Linked DNA regions of Homo sapiens: all the other regions are linked to region 3. Evidence: promoter capture Hi-C in 16 types of primary human blood cells and fetal thymus (Javierre and others, 2016). All regions are on one chromosome and are shown on one strand. The core of a region is centred on a gene start or on the middle of the fragment in contact, and the rest is flanking DNA. Distances in the headings are between cores, read along the strand shown.

Evidence for each region. Contacts are between HindIII fragments. The CHiCAGO score rates a contact against its expected background, and 5 or more counts as called.
Region 1: a fragment that was not itself captured here is called in contact with the fragment with the promoter of ESCO1 in region 3 in 1 of 17 cell types (non-activated CD4 T cells); the score reaches 5.1 in non-activated CD4 T cells.
Region 2: a contact is called between a fragment that was not itself captured here and the fragment with the promoter of ESCO1 in region 3, in 1 of 17 cell types (activated CD4 T cells). The highest score is 5.4, in activated CD4 T cells.
Region 4: a fragment that was not itself captured here is called in contact with the fragment with the promoter of ESCO1 in region 3 in 1 of 17 cell types (M2 macrophages); the score reaches 5.7 in M2 macrophages.

The regions. Positions count from the first base shown.
Region 1 is chr18:20,991,466-20,996,835 of GRCh38, forward strand. ROCK1 (Rho associated coiled-coil containing protein kinase 1) reads right to left here. Exons shown (of 33, transcript NM_005406.3): 17 at 1,366-1,472. Among named protein-coding and RNA genes, the nearest start is that of ROCK1, 120 kb to the right of the region's middle. The HindIII fragment of the contact is 1,154 bases long and covers 2,216-3,369 here.
Region 2 is chr18:21,079,174-21,084,121 of GRCh38, forward strand. All of the region lies in intron 1 of ROCK1 (Rho associated coiled-coil containing protein kinase 1), which reads right to left. Among named protein-coding and RNA genes, the nearest start is that of ROCK1, 30 kb to the right of the region's middle. The HindIII fragment of the contact is 1,330 bases long and covers 2,243-3,572 here.
Region 3 is chr18:21,597,758-21,602,466 of GRCh38, forward strand. It overlaps ESCO1 (establishment of sister chromatid cohesion N-acetyltransferase 1), which reads right to left and starts at 2,947. Exons shown (of 12, transcript NM_052911.3): 1 at 2,866-2,947. RefSeq lists enhancers at 1,291-1,585, 2,653-3,172, 4,497-4,576. The HindIII fragment of the contact is 1,991 bases long and covers 1,932-3,922 here.
Region 4 is chr18:21,051,900-21,056,564 of GRCh38, forward strand. All of the region lies in intron 2 of ROCK1 (Rho associated coiled-coil containing protein kinase 1), which reads right to left. Among named protein-coding and RNA genes, the nearest start is that of ROCK1, 58 kb to the right of the region's middle. The HindIII fragment of the contact is 2,697 bases long and covers 1,060-3,756 here.

The DNA of each region.
Region 1 (5,370 bases), core at 1,543-4,042, 610 kb before region 3:
ATAATCTTTTCTTTACCCCCTCCCTTCCCATTTGAATCATTAATCATGGCGGAGGGCAGAACAAGGCTGTGCTGGTGGTTATGTTCAGGACAGTTCATTGCTAAGATCGGAAATGAATAAGACAAATTTTCAGTTTATTTAAAAATTTCTGATACCATCTTTTTTTTTCTTTTCTTTTTTTTTTAAAGAGATGAGGTCTCACTCTGTCACCCAGGCTGGAGTGCAGTGGCACCTTCTCAGCTCACTGCAGCCTTGAACTCCTGGGCTCAAGCTATCCTCCAGCCTTAGCCTCTGGAGTGGCTAGTATTACAGGCATATGCCACCACACCTGGCTAATTTTTAAGCATTTTTTTGTAGAGATGGGGTCTCGCTCCACTGCCCAGGCTATTCTCAAATTCCTGGGCTCAAGCAATCCTCCTGTGTCAGCCTCCCAAAGTGTTGGGTCTACAGGCATGAGCCACCTTGCCTGGCCTGCTACCACTTTAAAAAAATATATTAAATCATCTTTATCTACATTTGCATCTATATCCACATTTACTTTGCTTTCACAAAAAAACAAAAACAAAAAACAAACAAAAAAACCCCACAAAGTATCCTGTGGCAAGTCATTGATATAGAAAGGAAAAATGAGTCAAAATATATTCCATTTCTGTTTGGGTACCCTTTTCTACTCTTCAAGCTTCTTTTATCCTATGTCCACATTTACACCAGCTTGGCCATCAAAAACTATTCTAATTGTGACAAAACATGTCCAAAGGACAAGATAAGTAGTGGCTTTTCTGATAATTTACCTGAGGTTCTATTGAACCTCCAACATTTCAGAGGCTTTGAAAAAGTGACAGCTGTATCTCTATATCATCTATTTAACTCTTAGCTAGGTATATAACAGAGAATAACCAATGAAATTTTTATTGTTAAGAAAATTCTAAATGCAAAGGCCAATCACTTTATGCTCTTTTCTATTTTGCTAACTGTAAAACAACAGAACAGGTACTCATCATCTACCACGTACTGATCTGTTGTTTTCCTTCTTCATAAGCCCTCACAGCACATTCATCTTACTCATGTACAAAGAAAATAGGAAAACATACTTTATAAAAAGGTATTTCCAAACCAAAGGAATCTGTGATGATCTGTTAACATGAAACATCTAATGCTCTCTAGGGTAAAAACAAAAATAACAAATAACAAAACCCTAAATAAGACATACATACAGCCCCACATACAACCAATCAAACATAAAAACTTTTAGAAATGTAACTATATAAACATTAAGAATAAATGCTATTTTATAAAACCACCTAGTAGTCTATGATAATCAGTAATTACTATTTTATAATAATTGGTATATGTTAAATCATTTACCTTTTCTGAGTGATTAAGCATGTCTTGAGCCTCTTTTCTTTCTCCTTCCACTTTTTCGAGATTATGTTTGAGATGCTTCACCTCCTCTTGTAAAGATGTAATTCGAGCTATCAAGTGAGAAAAAAGTTCAAGTCTGTAGTCATTGAAAGAAGTCTTTTTGTTCAGTATTGACAATTTAGTTTTTAAAAAATGTTTTTTTAATGTATTAAGTTTCCTGATCCGATAAGATTTTATTAAGTGTTTTCACAATAAACACAAGATATGGAATAAAAATATTAATGCTAATTGGATATAATCTAGTGCATATTCCTTATTTACAAGTAGCCAAAGAGATGAAGCCTCAGCTTGAGCTAGAAATCAGATCCAAGTCCTTACTGAGTGCTTTTTTTTTGAGACGGAGTCTCGCTCTGTTGCCCAGGCTGGAGTGCAGTGGCACAAGCTCAGCTCACTGCAAGCTCTGCCTCCAGGTTCACGCCATTCTCCTGCCTCAGCCTCCCGAGTAGCTGGGACTACAGGCGCCTGCCACCAGGCCCGGCTAATTTTTGTATATTTAGTAGAGACGGGGTTTCACCTTGTTAGCCAGGATGGTCTCAATCCCCTGACCTCGTGATCCGCCTGCTTCAGCCTCCAAAAGTGCTGGGATTACAGGTGTGAGCCACCGCGCCCGGCACTGAGTGCTCTTTCTAACCACATTAAAGGTGAGAGCCTTTAGTTAATTAAGGCAAGTATTAAGTGGTCCATATGTGCCAGACACTGCAAAGTGTTTAATAAAATTACTTTTAAACTTAATGGAGCCAAACTCTATTTTCACAGAAAACTAAGTTTTTAAGGAATTCAAGTACTCTAACAAAGCTTAGTTTTAACTTACCTGATGTTCGTGCCTTGCAATGGTAGTAACTCATATATTTAGTAATTGTCTACTCATTAAAACATGCTTTAACCTTACAGGTATTTAAGGCATAAATATTTAATAAACACACAAATTTAACACATGTAGTATCTGACTTAATATATTGTCTAGCTTAAAATAAAAATTATATTTTCATATTTTGTAATTCAAAGTGGCCTAGGATTTGACAAGGAAAATAGATGAAGTACCAGATGGGCCAGTAAAACTTCTGTACTACTCAAAGTACAGTTTGACTTACTGTACTTGTCCCACTCTCAAATGTACTCTAGTCACCTCCCATATTTCAGGGTTTCTAAAGTAGTTATTTAATAAACAAATAAATATTAAATCTTTGGCACCTGATAATGCATATCTGCTAGATTAGTTCTAGATCTAGAAAACAATGAAATAAATAATTTTATTTACACACTCAAGATATTTTCATGTTGCAGTAAGTTCATGTAGGAGAAAGAAACAGCTGCCGCTTTCTTTCAAATAATTGACCAAAAATACAGAGTATATGTGTGTTTGTGTGGACAGAGATAAAGCAAATGTGCTAAGATGTTTAAATGTTGAAGTGCTATTTAGAAATTATAATTTAAAAAATAAATGATATAATTATCTTTAAAATAGGCCAGGTGTAGTGGTTCATGCCTGTAATCTCAGCACTTTGGGAGGCTGAGGCAGGCAGATTGCCTGAGCTCAGGAGTTTGAGATCAGCTTAGCCAACATGGTGAAACCCTGTCTCAAATACAAAAATCAGCTGGGTGTGGTGACACAAGTCTATAGTCCCAGCTACTTGGGAGACTGAGGTGGGAGGATCGCCTGAGCCCAGGAGTTCTAGGAGAAAATCTGTTTTAAAAATCATTTTAAAAAATCTGTACAAAGATAGTAATTCAGATTAATCTTTGAATTTTTCATGTAGAAGCAGCTTACTGCAAACCAACTCCTAAGGAGACAAGATAATAAACTATATGGGTTGAATCCACGCAAGATTCCTAGCAACCACATGAAAGAGACAAATTAAGTATAGTTTATTTTCCTCATTTACTCTGTCTGAAAAGAAATGTCGGAAATAAACTAGAACTTACCTGTGCAATACACGAAAGCAAAGAAGCTTTATATACAGAAAATATAAAAACATAATGGGAGGAATAAGGGCCCAAACACTAGGTATCATAATCTAAGTTGATTAAAACAAAATTTCTAAAAGCTAATAGAAGATATTATCTTCATAATCTAGTCAAAGACTTTTTCGATAGGCCACACTAAAAACCACACTAACAATAAAGAAAAAACTAGATACACTGGACTACATCAAATACAAGAAATTAAGACCTTTTGCTTATCCAAAAGCAGCACTGAAGAGTGAAAATGTTCCCACCATGCAGTAGACTGACTATAGTTAACAATAACATACTGCATATTTCAAAATAGCTAGAAGAGATGATTTTGAATGTTCTCACCATAGAGAAATGACAAATGTTTGAGGAGATGTACATACTAATTACCCTAATTTGATCATTACACATTGCATATACGTACCAAAACATCCCATAAGTATGTACAATTATTATGTGTCAATTAAAAATAAAACAGGGGGAGGCAGAGAAGGGCCAAATAGAAGCCTCCACCGATTGTCCTCTCTGCAGGAACACCAATTTGAACAACCATTCGCACAGAAAAGCACCTTCATAAGAACCAACAATCAGCTTAGTGATATATATCAGCTTGGCCATGGTGGGGTACAGCACCAAGCAGGCTCTTGGGGGTCCCCAATTCCAGGTCCTGGTTCTTGGATGGCATTTCTGGACCTGCTCTGGGCCAGAGAGGAGCCCACTGCCCTGAAGGGAGAGTCCCAAGCCTGGCAGCATTGAGACCCAGTGCTGTGCTGGCTTCAGGTCTGACCCAGCACAGTTCCAGTGGTGGTGGCTACAAGGGTGATTGTGTAACCCCTCCCCACCCTCTCCCTGGCAGCTCAGCGCAGAGAGACTCCATTTGTTTGGGAGAAAGGGAAGAGAACAGAGCCTCTGCATTATAATACAGATAATTCTTCCACATCTTACCCAAAACCACCAACATGGTTCCTCTAAGAGTCTGCAAGAGCCACAGTATTACTGGGCTTCGGATGCCTCCTAATACAGATATGGCTACAGTGACCAAAAACTTAAATCACAACACCTAAGTCCCTTCGAATACCTGGAAAGCCTTTCCAAAAATGACAGGTACAAACAAGCCCAGACTGCAATGACTACAATAAATACCTAACTCTTCAATGCCCAGACACCAACAAACAACCACAAACATCACGACCATTCAGGAAAACATAATCTCACCAAAGAAACTAAATAAGGCCCCAGGGACCAATCCTGGAGAGACAGAGATATAAGACCTTTCAGACAGAGAATTTAAAATAGCTGTTTTGAGGAAAATCAAAGAAATTCAAGATAAAACAAAGAAGGAATTCAGAATCCCATCAGATAAATTTAACAAAAAGACTGAAATAAGTACAAAGAATCAAGCTGAAATTCCGGAGTTGAAAAATGCAACCGACATACTGAAGAATGCATCAGGGTCTCTTACCAGCAGAAATGTTCAAGCAAAAGAAAGTATTAGTGAGCTTGAAGACAGACTATTTGAAAATACAGTCATAGGAGACAAAAAAGAATTAAAAAGAATGGAACATGCATATAAGATCTAGAAAATAGCCTCAAAAGAGAGTATCTAAGAGTTATTAGCCTTAAAGAGCAGGCAGAAAGAGAGATAGGGGTAGAAAGTTTACTCAAAGGGTAATAATACAGAACTTCCCAAATCTAGAAAAAGATACCAATATTCAAGCACAAGAAGGTTCTAAGGGTTCAGAGGTCTGACTCAGCACAGTTCCAGGGTGGTGGCCATAGGGTAATGGTAAGTACACTGAAAAACACTACTGTAACACTGCAATTGCAGTGTATAAATTATTCATATCTTGGGTAGAGAGACTAAAAGAACTGATCAAAAATAACAACTATAATACTTTCCAAGAGGCAGTAAGATTATAAATAGAAGCAACGAAAAGTTAAGATGCAGGGGACTAAGTTAAAGTGTAGAGTTTGTATTAGTTTTCTCTTTGCTTG
Region 2 (4,948 bases), core at 1,658-4,157, 520 kb before region 3:
GTTATTGGGATCCCAGTTAGGGTTATTTACCGGAACTGCTTCCCTTCCTTGCAGGAGTGAAGTTTTCACCTCTTCCTCACCTTCCTTTTCTCCTCTTTTTTTCCTTGGTCTGCTGTATGGAGGCATGTTGCTCACCTCCATATTTTTCTGCTGCCTGCGGAACTGTCTGCTTTTCAGCTGTAGTGAGGGTTTAACTTAGCAGCAACATAACATCCCTCCACGTGAGATCAAACACCTGAGTTAAATTTCAGAAAATTTCTATATACCTATCAGGGTCATCAGAAAATTGACCTAAGTCTCCCTTTGTTTGCTTAACGTCCTGCAATGAGAAGGGAACTTGAACCCTTATGGCACCATTCCCATCAGGCATTTCCTGGAGGGGTAAGAGTGAAGAGGGGAGAGTAGGACATACTGGAGATGGTGGTGCTGATGGTACAACTGGAGTGGAACCGGAAGGGTTGGGACTTCAGTAGCTGTCTTAGATTGCTCCTCTGGAGCCCGCTTTAGCTCTGGGGAACTACTCCCTGTGGGTTTGCCTGCCATGGCTACTAAAAGAACTGGGTCGATTGTACAGAACTTGTAAAGGTCTGGGTTGTCTCGCAGAGCAAAGAAAGCCTGTACATAGGGGACCTCAGTCCATTTGCCCTCCTGTGTGCAGAAAAGTTCTAACTGTTGGATAATATTAAAATTAAGTCTCCCCAGGCCAGGTTTACGAAGAGGATAGGAAGGCCATGCCCTTGTGCAGTAGAATACTGCTTTTTCTTCAAAGTTTTAGGGTCGAAGGAGTCCCAGTGCTTTAAAATACACTCCAGGGGAGTGCATGTTGAAGACGATCTGTTACCCATCTAGAAAGAGAAGTGAGAACAAAAGCGTTCTCCTTCCTTTCGGTATGTGATCCACGTGTGTTCCTGTAGTTTTTTTCTAATTCGACTCGAGACGAAGACCCTGGTGTTCCCCCACTCATCAAAGCCATATCACTAGCAAACCCTGGAGAATAGAGAAAATCTAATTTCCAAAATCACCACATTATAACAGTTAAACGGCCAATTTTCCATAAAGAAACCACAAGATATACAAAGGAACAGAAAAACACGGCTGGGAGGAATGAAATAAATGAACAGAAACCATATCCAAGAAGCCCAGACATTGGACTTGATAAAGACATTAAAAACTGTCTTAAATATGTTCAAAGAGTTGAAGGAAAACACAGAAAAGGAACTAAAGGAAACTAGGAAAATTATATATGACCAAAATGAGAATGTCAACAAAGAGAAAGAAACTATATTAAGAAACCAAACAAATTCTGGAGCTAAAAACTAACACTTTAAGTATAAATGGACTAAACTCTCCAATCAAACTACAGAGACTGACAAAATGGATTTTAAAAAACAAACAAAAACACCATGATCCAACTATATGCTGCCCATAAGGAACTCACTTCAAGTCCAAAGACAAATGGTTAAAAGTGAAAGATGGGAAAAAATACTCCATGCAAATAGTAAATAAAAAAAGCACTGAGGTGGGTAGGCTAATATCAGACAAAACAGACCTTAAGTTAAAAAAATGGTTAACAGACAAAAAAGACATTACATATTGATAAAAGAGTTAATTCACCAAAAATATATTATCATAAATTTATATGCGTCAAATATGTACATTTGGTATATAAATATACAAGCCCCATGATATGTGAAGCAAACATTGAAAGAATTTAAGAAAGAAATACATAGTTCTACAAATAGTTGGAGATTTCAATAATCCATTTTCAGTAATGAATAGAACCAGACAGAAGATTAATAAAAAAACAGAGGACATGAACGACACTATAAACCAACTGGACCTAACAGATTATAAAGAGAGAGAGAGCACTCTATCCAGTAACAAAATACACATTTTTCTCAAGTACACATGGAACATTCTCAAGAATAGACTTATTATGTTATGCCACAAAACAAGTTTTAATAACTTTTAAAAGACCAAAATGACACAAAGTATCTTTTCCAATCACAATGGAATGAAACTACTAAACAATAATAGGGGAAAACTGGAAAATTACAAACGTGGAAATTAGACAATGAACTCTTAAAACTATGGGTCAAAGAAAAAATCATTGGGAAATTAGAAAATACTTTGAGACAAATGAAAATGAAAATACAATGTACCAAACCTAGTAGGATGCTGAAAAATCAGTGCAAAGGAGGAAATTTATAGCTATAAATGCTTACATTTTAAAAAGAAAAAAAGCTTTTAAAATCAATAAAAATAACCTAACTTAATACTATAAGGAACTAGAAAAAGAAAAGCAAATGAAACCCAAAGCTGACAGAAGGAAAGAATAAAGATTAAAGTGAAGATAAATAAAACACAGAATAGGAAAATAACAGAGAAAGCCAATGTGACCCAAAGTAGGTCTTCTGAAAAGATAAAATTGGCACATATTTGGTTAAGCTGACTAAGGGAAAAAGAGAGAAGACTCAAATTAGTAATTTCAGAAATAAAAGTGACGACATTCCTATCAATTCTACAAATAATTGTAATAGAATATTATGAACATCTGCACACCAGAAAAAAAGGGTAACTTACATAAAATGGACAAATTCCTAGAAGCATACAATCTGCCAAAAATGAACCATAAAGAAATGGAAAGTCAGAATACACCAATAACTGTAACAAGTAAGAAGACAGAAATGGTAATAATAAACCTCTCAAGAAAGAAAATCCCTGGGCCAGATGGCTCCACTGGTGAATTCTAACAAACATTTATGTATTTTTATTTGTTTGTTTTTTCCTTTTTTTGAGGCAGGGTCTCACTCTGTTGCCCAGGGTGAAGTGTAGGGGCACAGTCTCAGTTCACTGCAACCTCTGCTTCCTGGACTTCAAGCTATCCTCCAGCCTCAGCCTCCTGAGTAGCTTGTGTGAGCAACCACACCTGGTTAATTTTTTTTTTTAGGGATGGGGTTTTACCATGCTGCCCAGGCTGGTCTTGAACTCCTGAGCTCAACGTTATTTGTTTGCCTTGGCCTCCCAAAGTGCTGGGATTACAGATTGTGAGTAGGCAGTATGTCCGGCCTCTACCAAACGTTTAAAGAAGAATTAACACGAATCCTTTTCAAACTCTTTCAAAAAACTGAAGAGAAGGAAATATTTCCTAACTCATTCTATGAGTGCAGCACTGCCCTGATAGCAAAACTAAAAATATCACACAAAAATTACATATCAGAGTTTATGAAACATATGAATATAGACATAAAAATGCCCAATAAAATAACAGCAAGTAGAATATAGCACATATGAGAAGAAGTACACACCAGGATCAAGTGGGATTTATGCCAGGAATGCACAGTTGATTTAACATACAAAAATATTTTAATGTAATCTACCACATTAATAGAATAAAGGACAAAAACCACATCACCTCATTAGATACAGATAAAATGTTCAACAAAATTCAACACCCTCTCATAATAAAAAACAATCAACAAACAGGGAATGGAAAGAAACTTCCTCAGCATGGTGAAGGCCACATATGAAAATCCCACAGCTAACATCATACTCAATGATGAAAGACTGAAAGCTTTTCTCCTGAGATCAGGAACAAGACAAAGATGTCACCTTTTGTCACTTCTATTCAACTCATTATTGGAAGTTTTTGCCAGAGCAATTAGGTAAGAAAAAGAAATAAAAGGCATCCAAATTGGAAACAAAGACATAAAATTATCTATTCACAGGTGACATGATCCTATAGGTGGAAAACTAAAGATTACACACACACCAAAACAAAACAAAACAAAAAAATCCGTCAGAGCCCATAACCAAATTCAGCCAAGTTACAGGTTAGTCAATACTCAAAAATCAGTTGCATTTCTATATACTAACAGTGAATAATCCAAACAGAAACTTAAGAGCAGTTTCATTTATAAAAGCATCAAAACAAATAATACTGAAGAATAAATTTAACTGAGGCTAAAGACATGTACACTGAAAACCATAAAACATTGCTGAAATTATAGAAGACATAAATGAAAAGACATCCTATGTTCATGGACTGGAAAAAATATTTTTTTTAATGGCAATACTACTCAAAGTAATATACAGATTAAATGTAATCCCTATCAAAATCCCAATGGTGTTTTTTGCAGAAATAGAAAACCTCATCCTAAAATTCAAATGTAATCTCAGATCACAAATAGCCAAAACAATCTTGAAAAAGAACAAAGTTAGAGGACTCAAATTCACTGACTTCAAAAATCACTACAAAGCTACAGTAACCAAAATGGTGTACTGCTGGCATAAGGACAAGCACATACAGCTGGTGCTCAAACAACATAAGTTTCAACTGCATGAGTCCACTTATACCTCCTTCCACCTCTGCTACCCATGAAACAGCAAGACCAACTCCTCCTTTTCCTTCTACTCAGCCTACTCAATGTGAAGATGGTGAATATGAAGACCTTTATGATGATCCACTTCCATTTAATGAACAGTAAATATATTTTCTCTTCCTTATGATTTTAGTAATATTTTCTTTTTGCTGGCTAACATTATGTAAGAATACAGTACATATATTTACATATAACATACAAAATACGTGTTGTTAATCAACTGGTTTTGCTATCAGTAAGGCTTTCAGTCAACAGCAGGCTATTAGTAGTTAAGTTTTGGGGAAATTAAAAAAGTATGTATTTCATGTATTTCAAATGTATGGAGAGAGGGTAGTGGTCAGTGCCCCTAATCCCCATGTTGTTCAAGGGTCAATTGTGCAGAAAAATGGAATGGCGGGGGGAAAAGGGGCACAAACCCACACATACATATGGTCAATTAATTTCAACATGTGTGACATAACCATTCAATAATGGACAGTCTTTTTAGCAAATGGTGCTGGAAAAACTGCATATCCACATGCAAGAGAATCAAGTGGGAGCCCCTACAATATACCATATACCAAAAT
Region 3 (4,709 bases), core at 1,697-4,196:
GAATCTTACACGTGCTGCCATAAATGTCTAAAGGAAGCTGAACAGAGCAGAGGATATAAATCTTCCTTTAAGCATTGTAATGCAATCAAGCATAAGATGTATATGCCCCTTCCCCTCAGGAAAAGACAAGACATGATGGCTGGGTTAACAGAATGCTCTTATTTGCCAAAAGTAACTACAGTATTATAATACAGCTATAATACAGAACTTATACAGGAAAAACAGAACCAAAGGATTTTCATTGAATGATCCACAGAAAAATATGAAAGTCAGGGTTACAAAAGGGGTAATATAGTCCTTAATTATCTACAGTAACAATTTTACTGGAGTTGGTTTCTAGTACCTAAATTTTAATCACCTTCAATAGAAGGTATTCCAAGAACTCTATGTGGTACAAAAATCTGCCAATAAAAGTCATGAAAAAATATTTAACTATTACAAAAAAATCCATTATTCGAACTGTGCAGCGCTGGTCACGTTCATTAACAGAATAAATACAATCAGCTCTGCATAATAAATTACCAAGCTAAAAAGGACTATCTGGCAAAAGAAGTTAATGGCATTCATTAATTAGGGTACTTTTTTAGTTATTCTGTGAAGCATAATTTATCAATTTAAATGCCAGCACCTTGTATGGGACGGACATTAAAAAAATTACTTGGCCGGGCATGGTGGCTCACGCCTGTAATCCCAGCACTTTGGGAGGCCGAGGCAGGCGGATCACCTGAGGTCAGGAGTTCAAGACCAGCCTGGCCAACACGGTGAAACCCTATCTCTACTAAAAATACAAAAAAATTAGCCGGGCATGGTGGCACTTGTCTGTAATCCCAGCTACTCGGGAGGCCGAGGCAGGAGAATCACTTGAACCCAGGAGGCGGAGATTGCAGTGAGCCGAGATCTCGCCACTGCCCTCCAGCCCGGACGACAGAGTGAGACTCCATCTCAAAAAAAAAAAACAAACAATTACTTGTTCACTACAGGATTATAATATTGATTGAGAAAGGTGAGACAATAGCATATTTTCCTCAGTTAGCAATGATAAAGGAGTTCTAGCTCGTAAGCCAGGACAAATTTTGGAATTGTGCTTCCAAAGTCACATATCTGACCCAACAGTGATACTCTGCATTCTGCCTAAAAGGGAAAAAGTGGCTCTATTACAGTCCTAGTTTCCTCATTTCCTCACATGCTCTAGGCCTGAATTTGCGACTTCCAAATTAAGCACGTTTTAAAGCACTTCTCATCCTACTCCCATGTCTAATTCCATTGATTAGATTTTTTGCTTTTCAAAAAAAAAAAAAAATTCACCAGGCACAGTGGCTCAGGCCTGTAATCCCAGCACTTTTGGAGGCCCAGGTGATCACTTGATCCCAGGAGTTCGAGACCAGCCTGGGCAACATGGCGAAACGCCGTCTCAACAACAAATAGAAAACTTAGCCTAACATGGTAGCGGACGCCTGTAGTCTCAGCCACTCAGGGAGGCGGAGGTGGGAGGATTGCTTGGGGCCGGGGAGGGAGGTCAAGGCTGCAGTGAACAGTGATTACACCACTGCAATCCAGTCTGGGCGACAGAGCGAGACCCCGTCTCAAAATAAAATAATAACTTAAAACTTTATTCGTGTTGGTGTCCTGTGTAAAGCAGAAACTAAGTACTTGACCAGAAGACAAAGTGAATATAGCATAGTTCACTGCAACCTGGATGTTTTCAACTGAAATCTATGTTTTATCCACTTTTTTAAAAAAGCCAATGCTGGTGGGGGGACTAACCACACCTTATGCCACCAAGTAGCGCTTTTGTTTCCTGCGAAGCTTATTTATTGAGATATCGTTTTGTAATACTATCTAGATACTGTGTGCTGCGATTCCTGTTTAAAGGAATCTCATTGCAGCTAAGACTACAGAAAACATGGTTCATAGTACTTCTCAAATCGCAAAGCTTGAGCTCCTTCCTCCTCCTCTTCCTCCCTCCCCTGGTCCCCGCTGCGTCCCCATCGCCCCGGAAAATAAAGCACACGCCGGATTTTCGGACGCATCATTGAGAGGCGGAGGGAGAGGAGGTAGTCTTCGAATTGTTGGACTTGCTATCCCATTCTGCCTGTGCAAAATAAACCCCCATAGTAAAATAATCTTAACCCGTGATAAAAATCGAGGACCCAATTCTCTTTGGTTCGCCTCTCTCCATCGCTATAAACTTCACTGCGGCCCTCAATGCACTCATTTCTACTCCAGAGCCGCCCTACCTGTGCCGAGACCCCCATTTGCAGCATGAGTTACTCTATGACCTTGGGCCCGCTCCCCTCCCAAACTGAAGGCTGTAAAACCAAGACCCCACATCGCGCCCCGCAAACTGCAGAGGCCTCCAGGCTCAGGCCGGGTCAGCGGGTTGCGCCAGGAGGCGGCGAGGGACTGGCTCCGGTGAAGCGCCGGGAAGAGAAAACGCAGGGGGCGGAGACGGGGCCCGGAGCTACCTGCGGGACCAGCACTGGCGCTGCCCCGGTGCTAGCAATGGCTGCGCGCCACCTCGGGGCTCCCGGAGCCCTCGCGGCAGTGCTGGGAACTCCGGCCCTGCCCCGTCGGCGGTCACGACCCCTTATGAACTTCGACCGCCCAGCAAACAGCGGCAGGTGGTGCGCGGACACGCGAGCACGTTAGCTGCCTACCTCAAGCGACGGCGTCTTGGAGCCTAGAGCCTCCCACCTCCCTCCCAGGGGCGCGAAGAGCTGGGACCGGAGCAGTAGGAAGGGGCGTGCGAGGCAACACGCCACCGAGGGTGGAACAGGAAGAGGGAGAACTGTCCGCTCCCTGAAGGGGCTGGCAAAAGAGAGGTGAAGACACAGGCGGCGGGGACCGTCAGGGACGCTCGCGTACCTTCCTTTTGCCTGGCGGAGGGTCAGACTAGCGCCAGCGGATCGCCTCACATCCGGGTATCAGGAGACACTCAGCTGCTTCTGCTGCGGCCGCCGCCTCCCCCGCGGCGCAAACACCAAACTTCCGGCGACGACGGCGACGCCTCGCTCGTCAGATGGGAGTTACCTGTGACCGTCTTGGGTGCGCTTGCGCAACGCTCCTCTTCAGCCCTAACCGGCTCAGCTGACGTGCCCAGAAGACGAAGATGGCCGCCACGCTCACTGCGTGTCACGCAGTTTTTCACCCCGGCCCGGACGGCTGGGCGTCGAGGAAAGGCGAGCTAGTGTCCATCCTCAGCGCAGGCGCGGTGGGAGGCCTAGCGCGCGCGCCTCCGCGGGTGGTCGCCTGGCAGGGAAGTGGCGGCGCCCCCTAGCGGCGGCCGCTTGTCGTTCCTGGGGTCATCGCTTTGAGCTGAAAACCACCCAGGCCCCCAGCGGTTGTGGTTTACCTTGGAAATTTGTCGCAACTGGTTGCCATGTAGGTTTTGGCTGCTTCTGTCTGCGATGTATAATCCAAGTGCCTTTGGTCTTCCATATGAGCCAATGTAAAGAAGGAGGGTGGGGCCGGGCGCGGTGGTTCACGCCTGTAATCCCAGCACTTTGGGAAGCAGAGGCGGGTGGATCATTTGAGGTTAGGAGTTCGAGACCAGCCTGGCCAACATGGCCAACATGGTGAAACCCCGTCTCTACTAGAAATACAAAAATTAGCCGGGTGGTAGTGGCGTGCGACTGTAATCCCAGCTACTCGAGAGGCTGAGGCGGGAGAATCCCTTGAGCCTGGGAGGCGGAGGTTGTGGTGAGCTGAGACTGGGCCACTGCACTCTAGTCTGGACGAGTGAGACCCTGTCTCAAATAAAAAAAAAAGGAGGGTGCAGTCCCTACACTGCCCTCCAGCACCTCCAAAAAATGCAGGGCTTCGCCCTCTCCTTGCACACTTTCTTCCTGTGTATCAGAGTGCAAGAATCATCAGAAATTGTAAAATATTCTGCTAGACTTAGTCAGACTGAGTGTTCAGACAAAGCTTTGGCTCGCTCTTGGACGCCTCTAGAGATAGAATCCAAGATTCTATCACTAGGATTCATGGTTCCCACACTTCTTTCTTTTGTGACAGGAAGGATCTTGCTGTGTAGCCCTGGCTGGTGTGCAGTGGCACAGTAACGGCTCACTGCAGCCTCGACTTGGGCTCAAGCGATCCCACCTGCCTCAGCCTCCCTGAGAACTGCATGTATGAAGCCCACGACACCATGCCAGGCTAATTTTTTTTTTTTTTTTTGAGATGGAGTCTCACTCTTGTCACCCAGGCTAGAGTGCAATGGCACGATCTCGGCTCACTGCAACCTCCGCCTCCCAGGTTCAAGGAATTCTCCTGCCTCAGCCTCCTGAGTAGCTGGGACTACAGGTGCCTGCCACCATGCCCGGCTAATTTTTTATTTTTAGTAGAGACGGGGTTTCACCATCTTGGCCAGGCTGGTCTCGAACTTCTGACCTTGTGATCCCACCTGCCTCGGCCTCCCAAAGTGCTGGGATTACAGGCGTAAGCCACCGCGCCCGGCCGCCAGGCTAATTTTTTTATATTTTGTAGGGATAAGGTCTCACTGAGACCAGCCCAGGCTGATCTCGAACTCCTGGCCTCAAGTGATCCTCTCTTCTCTCCTTGGCTTCCCAAAGCGCTGGGACTACAGGCCTAAGCCACTGCTCCGGCTACTAGACTGCTTTTGAACATATGTTCTGTGCTACCCTTTGCTTATTTGCGGAACTGTGAGGCTAGTTCGGTACTTCTGCATTTCAGAATGGGAAGAGGTGATC
Region 4 (4,665 bases), core at 1,158-3,657, 550 kb before region 3:
ACTTACATTTCAGGAAAACTACTCTAGGAAATACGTAGAAGATGAGTTCAATAAAGTCAAGACAGGAGGTGGGGAGAATTTTAAGAGTATTGTAATACCCCAGATGAGAGAGAAAGTTCTGAACCTGGATAATATAATAGCCTGTTACGTTGAAAAAAAGATTCTTGGCTCTAGCTATGAGCTAGAATAGGCTGTAGAGTCTTGACAAAGACCGCAGACAAGTCATTTGAAATCTAAAAGATCTTTCTATGTTCTACTGCCTTGGATTCTAGCTTGTTCTAATACAGGTTTACGTGCTAACAAGTGTAAATGCCTCTGTTGGATGGCTTTCAATCAAACTCAGAGATTCTATGGTTCTACTTTTCCTAGTTCATCTCACCAAGGGTCCAACCTAGAACTAATAAAGAACTTAATGGTAAAATTCTAAGCATTGGACTTTAGTTTCCCAAACACTCAGGACTATGTATTCACACCTACCCAAATCTCAGGATCTTAAACGAAGCCTATTTATTGTAAAGTAGTCATGTAAGAAACCCACTCTTGGTCTAGGGGTACTATATAGCCTGAACTTTGTAGGCTTATGGCTCCATTGAGACAGAAAACAATGCATGCACTAGAACAGGGATTCCCAACCCCTGAGCCGTGGACCTGTACCGGTTCATGGCCTATTAGGAACTGGGCCACACAGCATGAGGTGAGCAGTGGGTAGGCAAGCATTACCATCTGAGCTCCACCTCCTGTCAGATCAGCAGCGGCATTAGATTCTCACAGGGGCACAAACCCTATTGTGAACTGCACATGCGAGGGATCCAGGTTGCACATTCCTTATGAGAATCTTTTTTTAATGCCTGATGATCTGAGGTGGAATAGTTTCATAAAACCATCCCGTCTGCCACCCCCCAACCCCCATCCTGTCCATAGAAACACTGTCTTCCACAAAACTGGTCCCTGGTGCCAAAAAGTTTGGGGACTGCTGCTCTAAAGAAAAATAATAAGTACATAAATAAATATGTAACTTAATTTCACATTGTGATACATATTCTAAAGAAAATAAGACCAAGCTTTCCCAAGTCTGTAAGGGGAGACTATATACACAGGCTAATTCTTCAGTCACTTCAAACTCTGCACTGATTCCTCAAATAAACAAGAGTCAAGGAAAACAACTCAAAATTGGTTATTTTTTAATTGACTATTGATGCCACTCCCAATACCCCCAATTCTTTGAGCAGCTATTCTTGCCCAAAGGCTAACAGTCTTAGGCAAGTTTTTCTCTCTGTACACATTTGTTTGGCTGCTGCAATCACACACCATCAGTGAACAGCTTTCTCTGCTAGGCTAGTGAATAAACCACTCATACACTTACATAACATTGCAGCCTCTTTTTTTTTTTTGGTCAAGCCTGCATGAACATTTTTCTTTATGAAGAAATTTTACTGGGATGAGATACTCTGTTTTAAATTTTCTATTTTTTCTCACTGTTGCTGTCCTATGAGTCAGGAAGATCATAGTGAGTGCTTAGTCTGGGAATGTCCAAAGTACACTGTATTCCTTTAGCACAGCTATACTGTCATTGCATAATTTAAAAAAATGCTTTGCCACCTAACTTGATAAAAATAATCCATTCTCCATTATGCTTCAAAAAGGACAACATTTGGGCTGGGCATGATGGCTCACACCTGTAATCCCAGTGCTTTGGGACACAGAGGCAGGAGGATTGCTCAAGGCCAGGAGTTTGAAACCAGCCTGGACAACATACCAAGACTTGTCTTTACAAAAAATTTAAAAATTAGCCAGGCCCATGGTGGCATGCACTTGTAGTCCCAGCTACTTGGGAGGCTGAGGCAGAAGGACTGCTTGAGCCTAGGAGTTCAAGGCTGCAGTGAGCTATGAATGTGCCACTGCACTCCTGCCTGTGTGACAGTCTTTTAGGGGAGGGAAAAAAAAAGACAACATTTCAAGTATACTCTTCTCTTCTTGCTTTGACACATGCGTATGTACTGGTAATAGAAAACAAATAAAATGTTGTGATATGGTGATACATATAGCACTCAAAACTGTCAAGCTGTAACAGCATCACTGTGATTTCTACTGTGCTGAGCAGCAGTGTGAAGCAAGGAGAGCATCACATATGGTCGCTGTTGTAGCTACTCAGCTTAGGTGTTGTAGAACAAAAGCAGCTATACACAATACATTTTTTAAAGTGTAGCAACGTCCCAAGAAAACTTTATTTATGGACACTGAAATCTGAATTTCCTATTATTTCACATTCATGATATTGTTTCATTATTTCACCATCATGATCATGATGGGCTTTAAAAACCATCTACATATCAACTTCCAAATTTTTATCTCTAGTCTAGTCTCTCTTAAACTTCAAACTTATATATGCAATTGTATATTCTTTAATTATATATTCTTTTGACTTTTTTTTCAATCATGAAAAAATACAAAAAACATGCTTAGTTCATGAGCCACAGTGGTGGGTGAGATTTGGCCTGTGGGCTGTAGTTCACCAACTCCTGCTCTAATAAAACCCAGTGGCCTTCTGAGGGCACTGCTTCCCCACAGCTCTCAAGTGGGGACCTTTACTTTTCCACATGCCTTAGACAACCGACCCTGAAAGTGGGAGATCCCCCACATCCCCACCCCTAAATCTGCTAGCTTTGATTTTCATTATATTAGGTTGTATTTCCCACCTCTCATTGTTGCTGTAATCTACTGACTCTCAGAGGTCACCACGTCTCATCGCTAGACAGTTTTACTTCCTGATTTACTGAACTTCTCTCCAATATTCTCCTGTTTTAATTCTTAATAACTTTAATATACCCACAGATAATACTTACAGTACCTTGGCCTCTCAACACCTATACTTCTCTCCTTCAATGATCTTGTCCTCTACCTTACCTTGGTCACTCATTTCCATGGTCATATACTAGACCTTGTCATTACTCATAATTATAATCTTCCAACAATTTCAATTAGAAAACTTACACTCTCTAAGCACTCTCTTATAGCTTTCCTGCTTAGTTCCTCTAGCATCTTAACTCCAACAACCCCAACCCCACCAGGACCTCCAATCCATTGATTCTACTACACTCATACTTTCCCTCGTTGCACTGATAGCCTCTTTTTCCTACCTAGCCAGCTTAAATTACATGGTCAATTATTATAATCACTCCCTTGCATATACCTTTAATGTCATGAGCTCTCTTCTGCCTCACTTTACTTAGTTTGGCAAAACGACAATCCTATTATAGTTAAATCCAACTCTCCAACTACTCTATGTCAGCACCCATGCAGTTGAATATGTCTCAATAAATACATAAAATCACAATGACTGATCCTATTTTAAAATTCATAATCACAAACATCAAGCTGGCCCTTAGTTCTACTTGGCAATCCTAAATTTCTAGTCACTCTCCCACTCTCCTAGAGACGTATTTCAAGTTTTCTTCTTTCTTCACACACACCTCCCACAGCTCTCCCACTGATCCTCGTTCACAGCTAATGATCTTGTTTGGCTACTACCCTGAAACGAACGAAACAATCAGAAGAAAACTACCACTGACTTACCACCACTTACACACTTAACTATCAGCATGTACAAGCATATATTTTGTCTTTTCATATTTTACTATGGGAGACTACTTCTATCTTAACTTAAACCCTCCACTCATGCACTAGATGTCATCCTTTTTCATTACTGTAGTTCAAGGACATTGCTCAAGCAATTCTCCCCTTTCTCCTCTATTACTAAGCTTTACCCCTCCTAACCGGATCCCACCATGCTGTTTTCTCTCCCATCTTAGGGAAACAAAAAAAAACTCTTGATCTCATTTCTCTCAGCAGCTACTGTCCCATTACTCAACTCCCCACTGCAGCAAAATTTCTCAAAAGTTGTCTATAATTTCTGTGACTAAATCTTTCCTACTATTTGCTCTAAAATCCACTTCAGGTCGGCTCTTACCTTTCTTTCAAAACTACTTGTCAAAGTCACAAATGAGCATCATGTTGCTAAATCCAATGACCAATTCTCAGCCCTCATCTTGATATATCAGTGGCTTTAACACTTCAATCACTCTCTCCTGATACACTTTCTTTACTTGACTTTCAGGACACAACATTCTTCCAACAATACTGAAGATTTTACTTTTCAACCTTAGTAGTTTTCAGTTGCCTTGGCTGGTTCCTCCCCTTCTCTCAGATTTCTTAACACTGGAGCATTCCAAGGCTCAGCCCTCAATGGTGACTTCTTCTCTATCTACACTCACTTCTCTGGTGGGCTTTAAAAACCATCTACATATCAACTTCCAAATTTTTATCTCTAGTCTACATGTCTCTCTTAAACTTCAAACTTATCTATTCAATTACTTTCAAAATATATCCTCTTTTGAAAAACATCTCAAATTTAATGTGCCAAAAACTGAAGAAATATTCTCACCCAAAACTTATACCTATGTGTCCCACACTTTGGCCGATGGCTCAATTTTGCTCAGGACAAAAACCTAGGGGGCATTCTTGACTCCTTTTTTTCTTACACTCCACATCCTATCTTTCAGGAAAATATGTTGGCTCTCTCTTTGAAATATATCTGTAATCTGATAGCTTCTCACCCTCTACATTGCTACCATGCTAGACCAAGTCACCATCATCTCTTCCTTGGAT